5 separate regions of the Homo sapiens genome follow, and regions 1, 3, 4 and 5 are each linked to region 2. The links are contacts of gene promoters, found by promoter capture Hi-C in blood cells and fetal thymus (Javierre and others, 2016). All regions are on one chromosome and are shown on one strand. Each heading gives the region's core, a stretch centred on a gene start or on the middle of the fragment in contact. The rest is flanking DNA. Distances are from core to core; before and after follow the strand shown. Region 1 holds the start of LOC102724892 (a long non-coding RNA gene). Region 2 holds the start of TTLL7 (tubulin tyrosine ligase like 7). Region 3 has its middle 62 kb from the start of SSX2IP. Region 4 overlaps LOC102724892 (a long non-coding RNA gene). Region 5 holds the start of LINC01555 (long intergenic non-protein coding RNA 1555).

The links. The method cuts DNA at HindIII sites, captures the fragments that hold promoters and counts their contacts. A CHiCAGO score of 5 or more calls a contact.
Region 1: a fragment that was not itself captured here is called in contact with the fragment with the promoter of TTLL7 in region 2 in 1 of 17 cell types (total B cells); the score reaches 6.8 in total B cells.
Region 3: a contact is called between a fragment that was not itself captured here and the fragment with the promoter of TTLL7 in region 2, in 1 of 17 cell types (total B cells). The highest score is 5.6, in total B cells.
Region 4: a fragment that was not itself captured here is called in contact with the fragment with the promoter of TTLL7 in region 2 in 1 of 17 cell types (erythroblasts); the score reaches 6.9 in erythroblasts.
Region 5: the fragment with the promoter of LINC01555 here is called in contact with the fragment with the promoter of TTLL7 in region 2 in 14 of 17 cell types (non-activated CD4 T cells, activated CD4 T cells, naive B cells and 11 more); the score reaches 11.2 in non-activated CD4 T cells.

What each region holds. Positions count from the first base shown.
Region 1 is chr1:84,797,157-84,800,778 of GRCh38, reverse strand. LOC102724892 (a long non-coding RNA gene) reads left to right here and starts at 3,101. Exons shown (of 3, transcript XR_426717.3): 1 at 3,101-3,548. The HindIII fragment of the contact is 3,211 bases long and covers 767-3,622 here.
Region 2 is chr1:83,997,224-84,000,857 of GRCh38, reverse strand. It overlaps TTLL7 (tubulin tyrosine ligase like 7), which reads left to right and starts at 1,726. Exons shown (of 21, transcript NM_024686.6): 1 at 1,726-1,927. LOC124904205 (a long non-coding RNA gene) reads right to left here and starts at 1,570. Exons shown (of 2, transcript XR_007066195.1): 1 at 1,152-1,570. RefSeq lists silencers at 1,827-1,926, 1,937-2,066. The HindIII fragment of the contact is 3,041 bases long and covers 1-2,937 here.
Region 3 is chr1:84,750,576-84,753,992 of GRCh38, reverse strand. No RefSeq gene overlaps it. Among named protein-coding and RNA genes, the nearest start is that of SSX2IP, 62 kb to the right of the region's middle. RefSeq lists a silencer at 299-348. The HindIII fragment of the contact is 2,207 bases long and covers 1,003-3,209 here.
Region 4 is chr1:84,780,146-84,783,780 of GRCh38, reverse strand. LOC102724892 (a long non-coding RNA gene) reads left to right here. Exons shown (of 3, transcript XR_426717.3): 3 at 904-2,775. Among named protein-coding and RNA genes, the nearest start is that of SSX2IP, 92 kb to the right of the region's middle. RefSeq lists enhancers at 985-1,034, 1,225-1,304, 1,345-1,434. The HindIII fragment of the contact is 4,206 bases long and covers 1-3,635 here.
Region 5 is chr1:84,632,975-84,636,306 of GRCh38, reverse strand. It overlaps LINC01555 (long intergenic non-protein coding RNA 1555), which reads left to right and starts at 1,287. Exons shown (of 3, transcript NR_027379.1): 1 at 1,287-1,375. It overlaps LOC124904206 (a long non-coding RNA gene), which reads right to left. Exons shown (of 5, transcript XR_007066196.1): 4 at 859-1,033. The HindIII fragment of the contact is 1,375 bases long and covers 381-1,755 here.

The sequences.
Region 1 (3,622 bases), core at 1,123-3,622, 800 kb before region 2:
AATCTGACCACTTCTCACAGCCCCCCATGCTATTTCTTGGTCTGCGCTACCTTGATCTCTTGCCTGGATTCCTGCATACCCTCTCATTGGTCTTCCAGCCCCTACCCTTCTTTCCTACATTTATTCTCCACACTCCAGCCAGAGTGAGCCTTTTACAATTCAAGTCAAGTCATGTCACTCCCCACTCTGAACTTTGCAGTGGCTTCCCATCTTATTAAAGTGATGTCAGCGACCTTCACGATTTACCCCGTCACCTCTTTACCTCTCCTCCTTCTACTCTCCCCCTCACTCACACCATTCCCATTACATCATCCTCTTGCTTGTCCTTGAACATGCCAGGGATGCTACTGCCTCAGGGCCCTTGTGCTCTTGGTTCCTCTCCCATATATCTGCACATGGCTTACTTCCTCAGCTCCTTCAAATCTGTACCCAAATGCCTCCTTCTACATGAGACTTTCCCCAACCATCCTATCTAAATTGTAACCCACCCCACTCCTGGTTCTGACCTTCCCCCTTCCTCTGCTCCATTTTTTTCATAGTACTTATCATCTTCTAAAACGCTCCCCCTACTAGAACCTAAGCTCCATGAGGCAGGGACTGTTGCCTCTTATGTTCAGTGATCTATTCCAAGCACTTAGAACAGCCTGGCAGATAGTAGGTGTTCTGTAAATATTTGGATATAAATAATAAAGAATGAATGTATAATATACAGGAGGGAACCTCCTTTTAAGGAATATTTCCATCTTCTGGATTTGTTTTTTAAGCTTTACTAAGGTATAATCGATACAAAAAATTGCACATGTTTAATGTACACATTTGATGAGCTTGGGCATATGCATACACCTGTAATACCATCATCACAATCAAATCACTAAACATATCCATCACCTCCAAATATTTCCTGGTGTTCCTTGTCTGTCTGTGTGTGTGCATGTGTGTGTGTGTGTGTGGTAAGAACACTTAACATGAGATCTATCCTCTTAACATATTTTAAAGTGTGCAATACTGTACTGTCTCTTTCCATTGAATTTGTGTTCATATAGTCCCTAAGAGAGAATGGGAACACTCTTCTGAACAACTACTCTAGGCACACAAATTCAAGTATTCTGTTTTGTTTTGTTTTGTTTTGAGATGGAGTCTCGCTCTGTCACCTAGGCTGGAGTGCAGTGGTGCCATCTCGGCTCACTGCAACCTCTGCCTCCCAGGTTCAAGAGATTCTTCTGCCTCAGCCTCCTGAGAATCTGGATTACAGGCACCTGCCACCTCGCCCAGCTAGTGTTTTTTGTATTTTTAGTAGAGACGGGGTTTCACCATGTTGGCTAGGCTGGTCTTGAACTCTTGACCTCAGGTGCTCTACCTGCCTCAGCCTCCCAGAGTACTGGGATTACAGGCGTGAGCCACTATGGCTGGCCAAATTCAAGTATTCTAATCACTAACACTTATCGTGTGCTTATAAGTTGAGCACTGTGGGAAGCATTCTGCAAGCATCATTTCTTTAAATTATCACAACCCAATGAAGTAACTTGGAGTGATGTTACCTCCGTTGTATAGACAGGAGTACACCAGTACACCAGATCAGAAAGGTTAAGTGATTTTCCCAAACCACACAGCATATATAGGTATATATAAATTTCTTTTTCTTTCTTTCTTTCTTTCTTTCTCTTTCTTTTTCTTTCTTTCTTTCTTTCTTTCTTTCTTTCTTTCTTTCTTTCTTTCTTTCTTTCTTTCTCTCTCTTTCTTTTTCTTTCTTTCTTTTCTTTTCTTTCTCTCTCTCTTTCTTTCTTTCTTTCTTCTCTCTCTCTCCCTCCTTCTCTCTCTTTCTTTCTTTCTTTCTCTATCCCCCCTCCCTCCCCCTCCCTCTCTTCTCTTCTCTTTCTTCTTTCTTTTCTTTTCTTTCCAGGGTCTCAGTGTATCACCCAGGCAGGAGTGCAGTGGCATGATCATAACTCACTGCAGCCTCAAACTCTTGGACTCAAGCCATCTTCCTGCCTTAGCCTCCTGAGGAGGTAGGACTACAGATGCAGGCCACCATGCCTGACTAATCTTTTTCTTTTTTTTTAGAAATGGGGGTCTTACTATTTCCTTCCTTCCTTCCTTCCTTCCTTCCTTCCTTCCTTTCTTCCTCTCTCTCTCTTTCTTTCTCTCTCTCTCTTTCTGTCTCACTGTGTCACCCAGGCTGGAGCGCAGTGGCATGATCATAGCTCACTGCAGCCCTGAACTCTTGGGCTCAAGCCATCCTCCTGCCTTAGCCTCCTGAGGATGTAGGACTATAGGCATGGGCCACCATGCCTAATCTTTTTTTTTTTTTTTTTTAGAAATGGGGGTCTTACTATGTTATTCAGGCTGGTCTCAAACTTCTAGCCTTAAGCAAACATCTTGTTTTGGCCTCCCAAAGTGCTGGGATTGAGTTTCTTTATCACTTCACAATTCTACCTCCTTTAAGCAAAGACCTATTGTCAGGATTGGTTCTTTGGTATTCCTTTTTCAACAGTTGCCGAAAGCCCTAAAAGAATTCTTACCCAGCTGTTTGAAACAGTGGAAAGACCTCAGAAGTGTGACCAACTAGTCAGGCAAAGCCATAAGAGAGGTGCCAGAATTCAACTGGATGTCATTTTAATAGCCCTAAGAATTAATTATCCTAACAGATTGAAAGAATGCAGGATTCTATCTATCAAGTTCAAATGTCTTTGGAGAGAATCAGAAAAAAAATACATATATATATACACACATATATATGTATATGTATATACACAAATATACATCTATCTATCTATCTATCTATCTATCTATCTATCTATCTATCTATATGCAAAACATAATTGGGTGAAGTATGCAGTCCAGGGGAGTGGGGTGGGGGTGCTGCAGGCTTCTGTGAGGAGATAAAGAAACTCAGTAAAGTAGAATGTGAACTTGGGGACATGGACTGTGAGACACATCATCTGAAGGGCATTGATAGTGCCGCTATAAATAGAACGAAGCATGTTCCAGCAGCATTGCTGATGGCAAGGCAGTTAGCTTCCCAGACACCACCTCTGGGCGTTACCATGACTCATGGGAGTGACAGGTAGCTCTTTTGTGGGTGCAGTGGGTTGAATGGTGGCCCCTAAAAAGATATGTTTACCTCCAAATCCCTAGAACTTGTGCATGTTACTTTATTTGGAAAATTGATCTTTGCAGATGTAATGAAGTTAAGAATCTTAATATAAGATTATCCTGGAATACCTGACTGGGACCTAAATCCAATGACAACCGTCCTTATAAGAAAAGTGGAGACACGTGGAGGCAAAGGTGCTGTGAACATGAAGCTAGAGATAGCAGTGATGTGGCCACAAGCCAAGGAAGCCCGGGAATGCCAACAGCCACCAAAAGCTGGAAGAGGTAGGGAGGGATTCACCTCTAGAGACTCCAGAGGGTCATGGCCCTGCTGACACCTTGATTTCGGAATCCCAGCCTCCAAAATGGTGAGAGAATAAATTTCTGTTGTTTGAAGCCACCTGGTTTATGATGATTTATTACAGCAGCCCAGAGAAACTAATACAGTACAGTGGGTAAGTATCACCCAACCCTAGGCTGATTTCAATTCAAGTATGGATGTGTTTAAGGAAATTAACCTGTTGTATAT
Region 2 (3,634 bases), core at 477-2,976:
CCCTTCCTAGGAATGGAAGAATGATAACATGTAATGTAGTAATAGTGCATGCATAGTGTAAAGTGTAATACAGTGAAAATAATGATGTAAAGATGATTAACAAGAAGGCAGTGGAGAATTCCTCTTCAACCTCATGTGACCTTGACAGTGTATTGTGACGCTGATGTTCGGCTAGTTCTGGGTGAAGTCCAGCTTCTTCTTTCTGATCACTCTTCTTGCCTCAGGGTGATGCCTACCCTGGACACCTAACTGCCCCCTCTCCATTCTAAAACCCCTTCTCACAAAGGAAGGATAAACAGACTCACATTCAAGTTGCAATCACAGATGTGACACGGTTTAATGTATATCGTTCTCAGAGGCATTCTAGGGGAAAGGAACAAGTCAAAAACTCCAGGTGGCAATGTCTGCTCTGCCGCTTATGATCGTGAGACTAACCCAGCACGACAAACCCTGAGCCCAGTTTCTCACCAGTGTCCTTTATGAGAAGATGCCCTCACTGACCAGATCAGTTCCCAATGCTGGCAAGGCTGTATGGAGGTCTATTGCAGGTTACCAATCTCACAGGAGTTTTTAGAAGAATAAATGAAGAAATGAAAATGAGACTATTCTCAGCACAGTGGTCTATAGAAAGTGCTGAATTTATGTTGATTTACTCAACGAAGGACAAAACTTTAAATTGTGAAATTTTATATTTTTTGGGATGCACTTGGAGGGCCTTTTTTTTTCCTACCTTTAATCACATTTTATAGGTAGTTGCCAATTCTGTTCTATCTTTTCTTTTTTTCTACAGGGAAAACTGTACACTTGTCCTGATCTTCACCATGCTCTGAAATGAACCTGTGTGAACCCAGCGTGACAGAAGCAGGGACCACAAAAGTCTAAGGAATTCATGTGTTAGGACTTCTTCCAGTTCTATACAATTCATTTTATGAGAAGACATGATTGCCTTCCCGTTTTCAAGACACGCAACTCTAAAATGGTGAACAATGAACCTCGAATATTCTTTAATTTCTGCAACAATCTTCTGTAAATCTTTATCTCGAAATGGCTTCCTAAATCTACATTTTTTTACAACTGCCGTGGTTCAACATTTGCTTAGCAGGAACTCTAGGTCAGAGCTGTCCCTCAGCATCTACGGGATGGGGCCCCACCTGATTTTATTTCCTAACTTTCGAGCTGGCCTCAGATACCCGTTTATTCTTTGCTTCACAAAGATGCTTAGATAAAAGATCTGAAGACTCTCTTCAAAGATTCAAAAAGCTCCACTGTTTTGTGGGAAGATGTCTGTGGTCAGATAGGCAGGTGGATCGGGCGCCTAGGGCCCGGAGGTAGAAGGAGGTGGCCGGAGGCGCTCAGGCCAGCGCCTCTCGCATCTCTGAGGAGGGGCGCCGCCCAGGCGCTCGCGTTGCTAAGTCCTCTGTTTGCCGCGTTCTAAAGGAGCCCCGAGCGGGACCAAGGCAAACGGGGGGGGGGTGTGTGTGGCCCGGGAAAGCTCGAGCAGTGTCTTCAGTAAACCCCCAGAAGAGGCAGCGGCCCCTCCGTTGATCCCTCCTGTCCCCAGGACCTCCTGACTCCGAGGGGGCAGAGGATTCCCCGAGTCCTTTGTTCCTCCCAACCGTCGCCGCCCCCGGCGCCCGCGCCTCTCGGCACGTCGTGCACCCCCGGCCGCAGCAGGCGAATGGTCTGGCCCGTCGGTAGCCGCCACCCGCTTGGGCAGCGACAGCTGTTCCAGGCACTCCGCGTCGAGCACCGGAGTCCCGAGCCGTGGCTGCCACGGGCGGTGGGCGGGCGGAGGAGAGCACCGGACCACCAGTGCAGGCTGCCGAGTCGGGGCGGCCGCCCACGGGGAAGCTGCGAGGCGCGGGAGCACCTGGGGGACCGCTTGCAGCGGGGACGCGAGGACCCGGGCTGGGCTTTCCTCACCCGGGTGAGTACCTGCTGCCGCCATCCTCCCCCGACCCCCTTCCATGTCCCCACGTCCCCAAAGGCTCCGCCCTGGCCCTCTTTCCGGGCCCCCATCCCCGGACTGTCACTGCTCTGGGGACACCGTCCCCGCTGGGAGCCGCGGAACGGGGAGCTGCTGCGTTCGTGCAAATGATTCAGCACCATTCGTGCCCTGAGAGGTTTGGGCAGAATGGGGGAGGGAGAGGGCGGAGGGGACGGGGTCAGTTGCTGTGATCTCAGCTCAGTTTTTAGGCTCCAGATGGGAGACTCGGGCGGGCGGGGTCGGGTTGGGTGAACGAGGAGGCTCCCTGCTGGTTTATTCTGTAATTCCGTCGTTTTCCCACATCGTGGTATAAGCCTCCGCGAGTATGCGGGGCATTCTTGAAAGGGTATCAAAATGCCCTTTTCGCACATGCGAGTGAAGTCTAGGGCCCTTGTAGGTACCTCTCACTTTCTCCACATCTTGCTCTGTTGGATGCCTGACTCATGCCATCATCCACTTATATCACATCGCAGCGTTCCCTCGACTGATGTAAAAGATACCCTATGAAAGTTGCCTTGTATTCTGGGTGGGTTTGATTGATCCTGGCATAGAAAGAAAAGATTTAGGAGAGGTAGGAAATAATACCTTCATAGCCTAGGCACTTACTTTTATATATCGTATTTTATTAAATCATCATAATCCAGAACCAAATGTGGAAACTGAGGAGCAGGGAAGTTAAATTACATTCTCAAGGTCACAGAACAGGAATTCGAATATAGGTTTTCCTGACTCTATAGTCCATGGATTTTCCACTGTATTAATGGAGTGTGTCCAAGTGTACATATATATGCTCTATTAGATATTAAACATAGAATTAATTAATTGAGGAGTAATCTCAAACAACAGCAACAACAACCTGTAAACTTTCTGCATAAGGAATTATTGCTCCTTCAATATGAAAGAAAGATGCTTTGAATCATGTGAAAAATAATCTATTTTCTTAGAAAGCTTATGGCAAAAAATATGTGAACAACACTACATAGGAGAGTGAGGTCATAACAGGAGATGTTCAGCACATTTTTGGCAGTGATATTTGGTGGATGCTCAAGTGTTGGAGAAGTCGATTAAAAACGTAAGAAGAACTCTGGAAATCTTTTTCTGTCTTAAATGTTAGGGAGACATTTACAGTAATAATAGTTACTTAGTTCATGAGGTGTGCGACTGAACTGCACCCCACAATAGGGTGACAGGTGAACCCATACTAAGATAATGTTACTTGATTCATTACAACTCTGTGATATTGCATAACAGGTGATAACTCCATTTTACAGACTAAGGAACAAAATTCAGAGAAGGTTCAAGACCACTCAGTAAGCCATGGAATTTGGACAAGCCTTGACTCTTAGTCAGTTTAGAAATATGAGTGTTGTAGTAAAATGTAGTTCTTATATAGTGGGAAACTGAATTAGTTTGTTGTTACCCTGCCGTTAAGAGTCAACAATTATATTGACCTTCTATGCTCCTTCTGTAAAAATAATGGATGCTAGGTCTTTCTTCGCCCGTTGATGGGTCCTTTGACTTGCTTTCATTAGCGACTTACAGATTTTTTCTTAAGAAATGCATCTCTTGTTTATGTCTCAAGAGGCAGGTTGCTATAGTACAGATGCTCATTATCTCTAAATACTCACATAGTATTGATGGTAGGCA
Region 3 (3,417 bases), core at 857-3,356, 750 kb before region 2:
TTTCCAAATGGTTAGCAAAAAAGGGAAAAGTTACCATAGCAACTCCTAAAGTCTGTCTAGCTAGTGGCCACATGCTTTCAAGTGTCCTACTCTATAGTGGGAGATATTTGAGGGCAGTTTCTAGATTTTTTTTAAATTAAGGAAATGAATAAACAAGCTTAATGGATTAGTATCCACATTAAATTACAAGCATCAGCCTTCCAAGGCCTGAGATTTCTGGCAAGGAACAGCTGCTGTGGGTAATGCGGACTGGCCACTTGGTGTCGCTGTTGTTCCGCTGCTGGGTTCTGCAGCGCTGTCCCCCGCTGGTGAGATGTCCTCCCTTTCAAGTAGATGCTTTCTGTGAGCCGCCCTAACATGCATTTATTCAAAATGTATTTATAGTGTCTGCCATGTGCCAGAAACCATGCGAGTCTCTGGGGATAGGCTGGTGAACAGTTTGTGGAGTTCACAGTCTAGCAAGAGAGACAACCAAACAAATGAAATAATTACACTTTGTGATTAGGTCTATGAAGGAAAAGATCAGACTCCTAGGATGGAGACTAAGGTGGGCAACAGCTTTTTTGCAAAGTCGTCAGAGAAGACCTGTCTGATGACTTATTAGGCTGAGACCTGAAGGATAAGAAGGGCCGTGGACCTGGAAGGGATAGGTGAAGAGTGTACGAAGAAGAGGGACAGCGAAGCCCACCAGGGCTGCTGCACAATGAGGGAAGAGGTTGTGGCCAGGGATGAGCAGGTAGGGACCGGATCATGCAGAAACCTTTAGGCCAGGGTCACGCTTCTGTTCAGATGTTATTCCTGGCCAAAGGAAATGTCTTGAAGATAATTCGATTATTATTATTTGTTTAAATAATTTCCTTTTCACACCGTATTGCAGTTCCCACTGTATCACCTGTTGCTTTAGACACGTGAACACTTAGAAAATGCATATTCAATATTATAACAATTTAATTTTTTAACACAGCTATTGTTTTCCTAATACAAACTATGGGATATAAAGCTTAACAAAATCTTTGCTGGTGGGGCAGAGTTTAAGAAATCTGAGAGGCCAGGCACGCTGGCTCACGCCTGTAATCCCAGCACTTTGGGAGGCCAAGACAGGTGGATCATGAGGTCAGGAGTTCAAGACCAGCTTGGCCAGCATGATGAAACCCCGTCTCTACTAACAATACAAAAATTAGCCAGGCGTGGTGGTAGGCGCCTGTAATTCCAGCTACTTGGGAGGCTGAGGGAGAGAGTCGCTTGAACCCAGGAGGTGGAGGTTGCAGTGAGCCGAGATCACACCACTGTACTCCAGCCTGGGCGACAGGGAGAGACTCCATCTAAAAAAAAAAAGAAAAAAAAAAGAAGTCTGAGAGAAGCAGTCAAAAAGCATATGGTGAGAGAGCACTGCACTGTGACATGAGTTGGGAGACGTGGGCCACTGCCCCCCTTATAGCGCTTCTCACATTGTGGTCATTACCCCCTCACTTCTCTTCTGCCTCACTAGACTTGGGATCTAGAGGCAGGCACTGCCCTACCCACCTTAGTAACCACCACGATTAGCACAGGAACACAGCAGGTTCTCAATAAGAGCTGGATGGGAGGATGGATGCATGGGAAAATGGGCAGGCTCAGGGTAAGAGGTGGCTCATGCCTGTAATCCCAGCACTTTGGGGGGCTGAGGTGGGAGGGTCACTTGAGGCCAGGAATTTGAGATCAGCCTGGGCAACATAGACTCTTCTCTAAAAAAGAAGGAGAAGGAGCAAGAAGGAGAAGGAGAAGGAGGGAGAAGGAGAAGAGTAAGAAGGTAAGATATGTGGGAATACCAATGCTGATAAGTGAGCCTCCTGCAGAATCCTAGTGACATCATCTCAAAGATAAATCATTCTCAAGTTCTGAGAACAGGTGGCACTTCTTATCCATGGGCTCCACATCCATGAATTTTGGGTCAAAAATATTCTTGAGAATAAAATAAAAAATAACCATACAACAATAAAAAATATACAAATAAAAAACCAATACAGTACATCCACTATTTATATAGCATTTACATTATATTTGGTATACAGTAATCTAGAGATGATTTAAAGTATATGGAAGGATATGTATAGGTTATATGCAAATATGACACCATTTTATTTTGTTTTTATATATTTAAGGGTTATAAATGCCATTTTGTTACATGAATATGTTGTATAGTGGTGAAGTCTGGGTTTTTAGCGACATTGTACCCATTAAGTAAATCCTCATCCTTCATGTCCTCCCACCCTCCCACCCCTCAGAGTCTTCAATATCTAATATTCCCCTCTCTGTATCCATGTGCACACATTATTTTACTAGACCGTTTTATATAAGGGACTTGAGCATCTGAGGATTTGGATGTCTGCAGGGTGGTGGTGGGGAGGAGGGCGGTTCCTGGGACCAATTCTCCATGGATACAGAGGGATAATGTTATAAGACAAAGCATTTCTCTGGCCTCTTTGTGTATGTCCTAAATGCTGATTGAGCACCTGATATGTGCAAGGCACATACTAGACACAGGGATACAAAATGAGTAGGACATCATCATAGTCCTGATGCTACATACAGTCAATAAAGGAAAAAAGCTGAAAGCATAGTTTAGAAAGTGTTAGGTACTCAAAGTGAGAAATAAATTATGTGCCCTAGGGGTTAAGAAAAAAGAGGACTTTCAACTGTAAGGGTCAAGGAAAGTAGACCCTTACAGGACCCATCAAGGAAAGGGATGATGACATTTGCATTTCCTCTCAAAGGATGGGAGATTTCCTTGTGGATGACAGAGCTCTATGAGCCTCCCCTCCAAGCTAAGAGAGGTGGCTTGTTCCTGAACACCACGCTAAAGGAGAAAGAATTCAAAGCCATCTCCCATCCCTTCTCCCCATTTTGTGAGCCCATGATACTGCCGCCATAGTGCATCCAGACAGCCTGGCATCCCAGATCACGAGCTGCAAGCCACACTTGATAAGCACATTCTGGGTATGGATTTGACTACAACATTCCCAAACCTTCCAAGCAGTCTTTGTGGCTTCCTGTTAGAGTCTTTAGTTTGGGGTCACTCTTCATTTTTCTACTGCAGTATTTTTCCAACTACAGATCACAGTCCATTAGTGGGTCAGGTAATCAATATAGTGAATGTGACCAGCATTTTAAAGAAATGGACTAGAATAGAATGGAAATAATTAAGGTGCATTGCATAATAAGGGAAAGCTTTTATAGGTCAAGCATTATGTGTGAATAGTGGCAGCCCTGCTGGGTGATCCTTCTCTGAGAGGCTTCAGGGGACAAACTTCCTTGCCAGAGTATTGGTGCCATACTCCCATGGCAATTCCAAGCTTTGATAGAATTGAAGAGAAAGCTCCTAATTTAAACTTGGATATCCTCTAAGGCCCATGAATATGTAAATGCATGCCATAATTC
Region 4 (3,635 bases), core at 434-2,933, 780 kb before region 2:
GACTGCTGGCTACCTGCTCCATCTATCAGCTCAGTGCGTGTGCTGACCACCTACTGTGTGCCAAGTACCGTGCTCACCTTGGAGGCACATTGCCACGCTGTCCTATGCCCACCACTCTCCAGTCCCGGGGAACCTGCCACATGTCTGCCAAGGCCAACCTCAGGCTCCCTTCCTTTCCAGGAAGCCTAGGTTGAGTTCCAGCCCCCTCTGTACTCCCATTTGTTGGAATAATGCCTCTGGGTTTGACTTACTCCCTAATCTGTTCCTTAAGAATGGAAACACGTCTTATTCATTTTGGATCCCCTCACCTGGCATAGGGCTTGGCACATGGTGTTCAATAGACGTTTGTTGAACTGAACTGAAGAGGAAAGTTCGGTTGGGGTCATAGGAGAGGGTCATGTATGCAAGGTCCCCTGGGAGAGGTGGGGGCGGGGTAAGATGGGGCAGGATAAGTGTTAAGTGGCTTATTTGTTCCCTGGTCTCCCCAGGGAGAGACATAGATTACTTGGCTTCCCTTTTCTGGTCAGAAGAAACTTGGCTTCCTGTAGGCTCATGTCCATGCCCACCAGAGGCACGTCCTACTAGAGAGGGTGTATGTGGACTCAGGCCCAGCCCCTCCCTCTCACATCGAGAGGAGAGTAAAAGTGAGACCTGCATCTACCAAAGATAAGGATGTGGACATAGGACAGAGGGAGGTTTGAGTCACAACTCAAGATTCTATGGCTGGTCGTGTGACGAATTGTTTAGTGATCATTGTCAGGAAGCCCCGTGTGGAAACTGGAGGGGTAAACACCCCCCAAAACCGGGTGGCCCACTGTCTGCCACTAGCTAGCACTAACAATCACAATGAGAATGACAGAACACTGCCTCCTGTTCTAAGTGCTTTATGTATACATTTAACAGGAATTGCAAGGGAAGAATTGGTCCACGTCTGTGAGAGGAGGCCTCTGAAACACGCTGACTTCACAGAGGAGAAGGAATGAGCTCAATTTCAGGCACCTCCTCCGGGGCGGTCAAGAGCAGAATGAAGGAGAACATGTATGGCCCTAGGTTGGCCTTGAAGAATTAGAGAAGCTGCTGGTGCCCCGCCCCCAACCTGGCCCAACAGCAGAGCCTCCGCTAGGGGGAGCCGTGGAGACCTGATTTCCTCTGCGCCGCCTTTCCTAATGAATACCCCAGGGGAGCTCCTGGCAGCACCCTGTGGAATGGCCCCGCGGAGCTCTGGCCCCTGGAATTTGCCCTTCACAATTATGCTCCCTGCTGGGAGAAGTATAAATATGGATGGAGCGTGGCGTCTTTAAACATGGCACAAGAGTAGAGGAACAACCAAGTCCAAATGATAATATTTTGAAACGCCACGGGGAGCCTCTGCTGCTGTTGAGTTAGAATTGCTTCTCTTTCATGTGATTAAAGAAGCCCTTGTGGGTTTTTGCTTTTCCTTAGAGACATACCATGGTTTCTCCCCCCGCACTACAGCACTGAACGATTTTTAAGGTTTCTAAGTGCACTCCATTTACATTTCCTACTCATTCTCTAAATGAAAGGCAGGCTAAAACACATTAATGAGCTTCCTGATTACTGCAGCCCTTGAGAAATTAATTAATGACAATGCAGCCACACTTAACATTCCTCCTCCTTTCTGAGTTTGGAAAGCGGGAGGAGCTGCGCTTTAATCCACGCCCAACCAAGAGCCACCATGTGTCTTTAGCCGAAGAGTTGGTTTGCCAGGACACATTTCAGATTGCCTTTCCTAGAGAAAAGCCATTCCCTGAATAATTAAGAGACAGCATCTTTTCCATTGTCTGGAATTTTTTTTTACCCTAAATTAGGTGGTTTAAGCTGGTAGATGTTGGGTATGACTTGTTTCTTTTCTTTTCTTTTCTCTTTTTTAAGTAAATAAGTGTCAAGCACCAGCATTTACCTGGCCCTTCCCTTATAATAATAGCCAACACTTTAAAGTTGCTTGTCAGGGACTGTTCCAACTGCTCTGTCTTTCTTTGCCTCTCTCTGTGTGTACATATTTACTTATTAAATCTCACAATAACCCTGGGGTAGGTGGTATTATTATCCCCTATTTACAAAGAGTGAAGAAGAAGAACAAGACATATCCACGGATCTACCAGCTAAAACTACCTAATTTAGGACTTTAAAAAATTCCTAAGCCATTAAAAAAGATGCCATCACTGAAGAACATACAGTGAGAAAGTGGAAGAGCCATGATCTGAACTCAAAGGGATTGGCTCAGAATCCATGCCTTAGCCAGTAACTACATCTACAGCCAGCCATATGTACATTTGTATCTTGAGTTGTTTTTATTTTTTAATCTGTGTTTATTTTATTATTTATTTTCTATTGTATATATTTAAGGTATACAACATGATGTTTTGATATACATAGTGAAACGATTATTGCAGGTAAGCAAATTAACGTATTCATCACCTTCCCTACCTTCTCTAGTTACCCTGTTTTCAGTAAGAGCACCTAAAATCTAGTCTCTTAGCAACTTTTCAATATACAAGACTGTATGATTAACTATAGTCCTCCTGCTGTATGTTGGATTTTTAAATTTATCCTTCCCACATAACTTTGTACCTTCTGACAAACTCCCCATTTCTTTCCCCTCCCCACCCTTGGTAACCACTGTTCTACTCTGTTTCTATGTATTAGACTTTTTGTTAGATTCCACATACAAGTGAGATCATGCAGTAGTTTTCTTTCTGTATCTGTCTTACTTTTTAGCATAAAGTACTCCAGGTTCATTCATGTTGTAGCAAATAGCAGTATCTCCTTTTTAAAGGCTGAATAGTATTCCATTGTAGGGATATTGTAATATATATAGATATCACAATTTATTTATCCATTCATTCATCAATGGGCACTTAGGTTGTTTCCACATCTAGGCTATCATGAATAGTGCTGTGTTTACTGAGATGTTTTCCACTCATCTTCATTCCAGGTGCCTTCAGTGCTGCTTCTGCCTGCAGAGATGTCCTCCAGTCACCATACTTTGCCTCCGGTAGGCTGGCTGAGGACAGAGAATAGTCAACACACACAACCACTGTTAGAGCGTGGGTAAACCCCAGAGTGATTTTATAGCATGCAGGCATTTCACATCCAGCAGATAGGCATTGGGCTTTGCACCATGCATTTCATCTTGTTTCCTCCTTTCTTATGGGGAGAGATGAAGGAAATCCTTTGCAAGAAGCATATTCTCATGGGGGTGTCATCGCCGCTGAAAACAGCGGACAGAGGTTAGCAAGACTGCTCCTATTGTTACAATAAGGACCCTGAGGCTTGGAGGACTGCTGACTTATTTGCTCAGGATTGCGCGGTTTGGTTACTTTGCCTTCTTGTTTTTGTTTTGTTTTTTATGGGACTCTGCAAACGTGTAAACTGACTGATTCCAACCTGCTGTTCTTTCTTCTGCACCACTCTGTGCCCATGTGGTTCTGGGGATGAAGCATGCACCTAGGTGGCTACCCTTGGAGAGTCCTTTCTGGTCTCAGAGCTGACATAAGAATGAATCAGCCTTACAAGTGTGAGTCCCCGGTGCCAGGGCCTTGAAAGAATTGCACAACTTTTTGGCAGCCCCAGGAAGCCCTGAAATAAAGCTGGGGACCCAAGTGTACTCTGTG
Region 5 (3,332 bases), core at 38-2,537, 640 kb before region 2:
CTATATAGGCAGTGGGCAAAATGAACCCATTTGGCAGTTACACTCAGACAGTGGATCTTTGTGTAGGTTCTTCAACAGTGTTGTGCCAGCCTACAGGATGAAACACCAAGCTCACAGAAGAGTGTTCATTTAAAAGAAAGCAACACTAATGATCCACACAACATCCTGAATTTGTTATGTCCCAGAAAGGCTTATCATAAGTTCAGTAATTCTGGTTCATCTACCAAGATAAGTAAGTGTGTTTGATTTTGTAAGGTATGCAGCAGTGATCTCCTATTTTGGTGTTTTTCAATACAATTTTGGTTATGTGCAAATAAAAAATTGATGAAATTTTATTTTCCTTCAATATCAACTTAAATGGTTCTTACATCTATAAAGCTTTTTCTGACTCTGTGGGGAGGCAGTCACAACTCTGCTCTCAGAATTGAACTTTCTCCCTTTTATTCATTCAGCAAATGTTTATTGAGTACTTATTAGGATTGCTATGCTAGGTGCTGGGATTCTAACATGGAAGGTGACTTGGCCATTGCCCTCAGAAACTAACAAACTACTGCGGCAAACAAGCCAATGGGCCACTTAAGGCACCTGAGTAAGTGCTCCAATAAAGGTTTTGGAGGGCTCTGAGGCAGGGAAGAGGGGGAGAAGCATGTTTAGCCTGCGGAATAGGAGGTCAGAGAGGATGCTTGAGTTAAGTATTGAAGAGGGAACAGAACATACAAGATCAGAGGTATGAAACCAAATGACCTCCAGGGAAATTACAAATAGCTTTGTAAGAACAAAGTGGTGTGGGAGAACAGTGGGAGGGGTAGAGAGGAGCCAGGTTAAAAGGGTCTCAGATTCAAGAAGTTTTGAACTTACCCTGAAGGCTTAGTGATGTGCTTGGTCAAGCACAACTGTGACCCAGAGTGTTCCCTCTCTCTCCTTGTCATAGCATTGTGAGTATACCTCTATTAAAGCATTTATTACAAATGCTTTAACTGCATATCCTTCTGTCATAGCATTTATCACAATTCTAATTCCATATGGAGAACTGCTGAAAAGAAAGCAAAGTGGAGATGATACCAGGTTGCAGTAATCCAAGCAAGAAGTGATTGAGAGGAATGCATGTTCCTACAGGTAGACTCTGATTGGATGTCGGTGTTAAGTAAAACAATCTCTGGCTCAGATAGCGGTGGATGAAAGGGCTTACAGAAGAACAGCTTTAGGGGATTGAGCAGGAAATAGTCTAGTCAGCAGACCTGGGTTGCCTGTGTGTTAACCCAGCAAAGGTCTGTCTTCAGGACTGGAAAATGACCTCTGAGTCTTACACATTCTGCCTGCTAAGAGTGATTTTGCATGCCTGAGGCCTCGGGCCATGCTGTACCGGTGTGACTAGGTAAGTTTATCCTAACAATGTGATTTATGGTGAATGCCTTTTTTGCCTGTGGGCTGGAGTCTGAGTAGCTGAGATCAGTCACCTGGGTAGGCACTGCATACCTACCTGATGACCCCCAATAAAAACAATAAAAATCCTGAGCACCAAGTCTTGGGTGAACTTCTGTGGCAACACTTCACATGTATTGTCACATATTGCTGTGACTCCACTGGGAGAGGATACCTGGAAGTTTGTGCTTGCTTTTTCCAAGACTTTGCTCAGGTGCCTGCCCCTTTGCTGATTTTAATCTGTAACCTTTTGCGGTAATAAATCATGACCATAAGTATAACAGCTTTTCTGAGTCCTGTGAGTCTTTCTAGTTCATGTGAGTTCATCAAGCTTAAGGGTGATCTTAGGGACCCCTGACACAGGGATAATGAATTGTTCTGGACATATTGAATTTAAGGGTCTCTGAGCCATTCAAGTTCGTGTGGATGAACTTGGGTTTTTATTAGGGTTCCTCAGGTAGGTATGCAGTGCCTACCCATGTGAATGCCTACTGTTGGCAATTGGATATATAAGTTTGGAGCTCAACAGAGAGGTCTGGGATAGATATTGAGATCTGAGAGCCAATACATAAGTGGCTGTTGAAGCTAGGGGCATACATGAGGTCACAAAAAAGAGACAGATGGTAGAATGAGAAGCAGAAGGTAGAGACTTGGGTATCACTGGCATTCAAAAATCAAATGTGCAGGTATGGTGGCACATGCATATAGTCCCAGCTACTTGGGAAACTGAGGCAGAAAGTTTGCTTGAGCCCAGGAGTTCAAGGCAGCAGTGAGCTATGATCACACCACTGCACTCCAGCCTGGCCAACAGAGTGAGACCCTGTCTCTACTTCAGAAAGAAAAAAGAGAAAAGAAAAAGAAAAAAGAAAAGGCAAATATGGAAGAAAAGGCTCTTTTATGGAGTGAAGAGACAGAGAGTTGAGAGTCAATATCAAGAAGATATCAAGGCCAGGCATGGTGGTTCTTGTCTGTAATCCCAGCACTTTGGGAGGCGGAGGCAGGTGGATTGCTTGAGCCCAGGAGTTTGAGACAAGCCTGGGCAACATAGTGAAACCCTCCCTCTATAAAAAATACAAAAATTAACTAGGCATGGTGGTGTGCTTGTAGTCCCAGTTACTCAGAAGGCTGAAGCGGGGATCACTTGAGCCCAGGAGGTCAGGTTGACGCTGCAGTGCAGTGGTGATAGCACCGCTGCACTCCAGCCTGGGTGACAGAGCAAGACCCTGTCTCAAAAAAAAAAAAAAAAAAGCCACCCTTAGGAAGGAGAGAATTCCAAGGAAGTTCAAATGTTATAAAGAAAACAATATATAGAAAAACGCTGGCAGTATTGTGGTCATTAGTAACTTTAAGGAGGGTTCCTCTGCATTTCCTAAGTTAATTTAACCAATATTTATTGAGTACCTGCTGTGTCCCGAGCCCTCATGAACTCAGTATAAAAGGAGACACCCAGGTAATTGATTGTATCTTGAGTGGATATCTCCCTGGAGAGAGTGCAGCAGAGGGGAACTCCTCAGTACCTCATGAGAGTGGGAGGATGGTTTTGTGTCCTGAGCTGTATCTTAAAGGATAAGTAGGAGTGAACCAGGAGGGATATGTCCAGGGCACCACTCACAGTGGGGTTTTGGGTAGCATAAAAGGCAAAGCAGGGGACCAGACACCAGACCAGCAAGATAGTCTGGAATCTGATCCCTCAAGGGGAGCTTGGGCATTATCCTGAAGGCATTTCCTGGAAACACTGAAGGATGTAATACAGAGGAGTAAAAAGATGACTCACACTTTAAATAATAATTCACTTGGCAGTTCTGAGAATGACCTAAGGGAAACAGATCTGGGGGCAAGAAGGGCTCTTAGGAGACTAATGCACCAATCCTGGTGTTTGGGTGTGTGGGTACGAAGTTCTTTCATTTGCA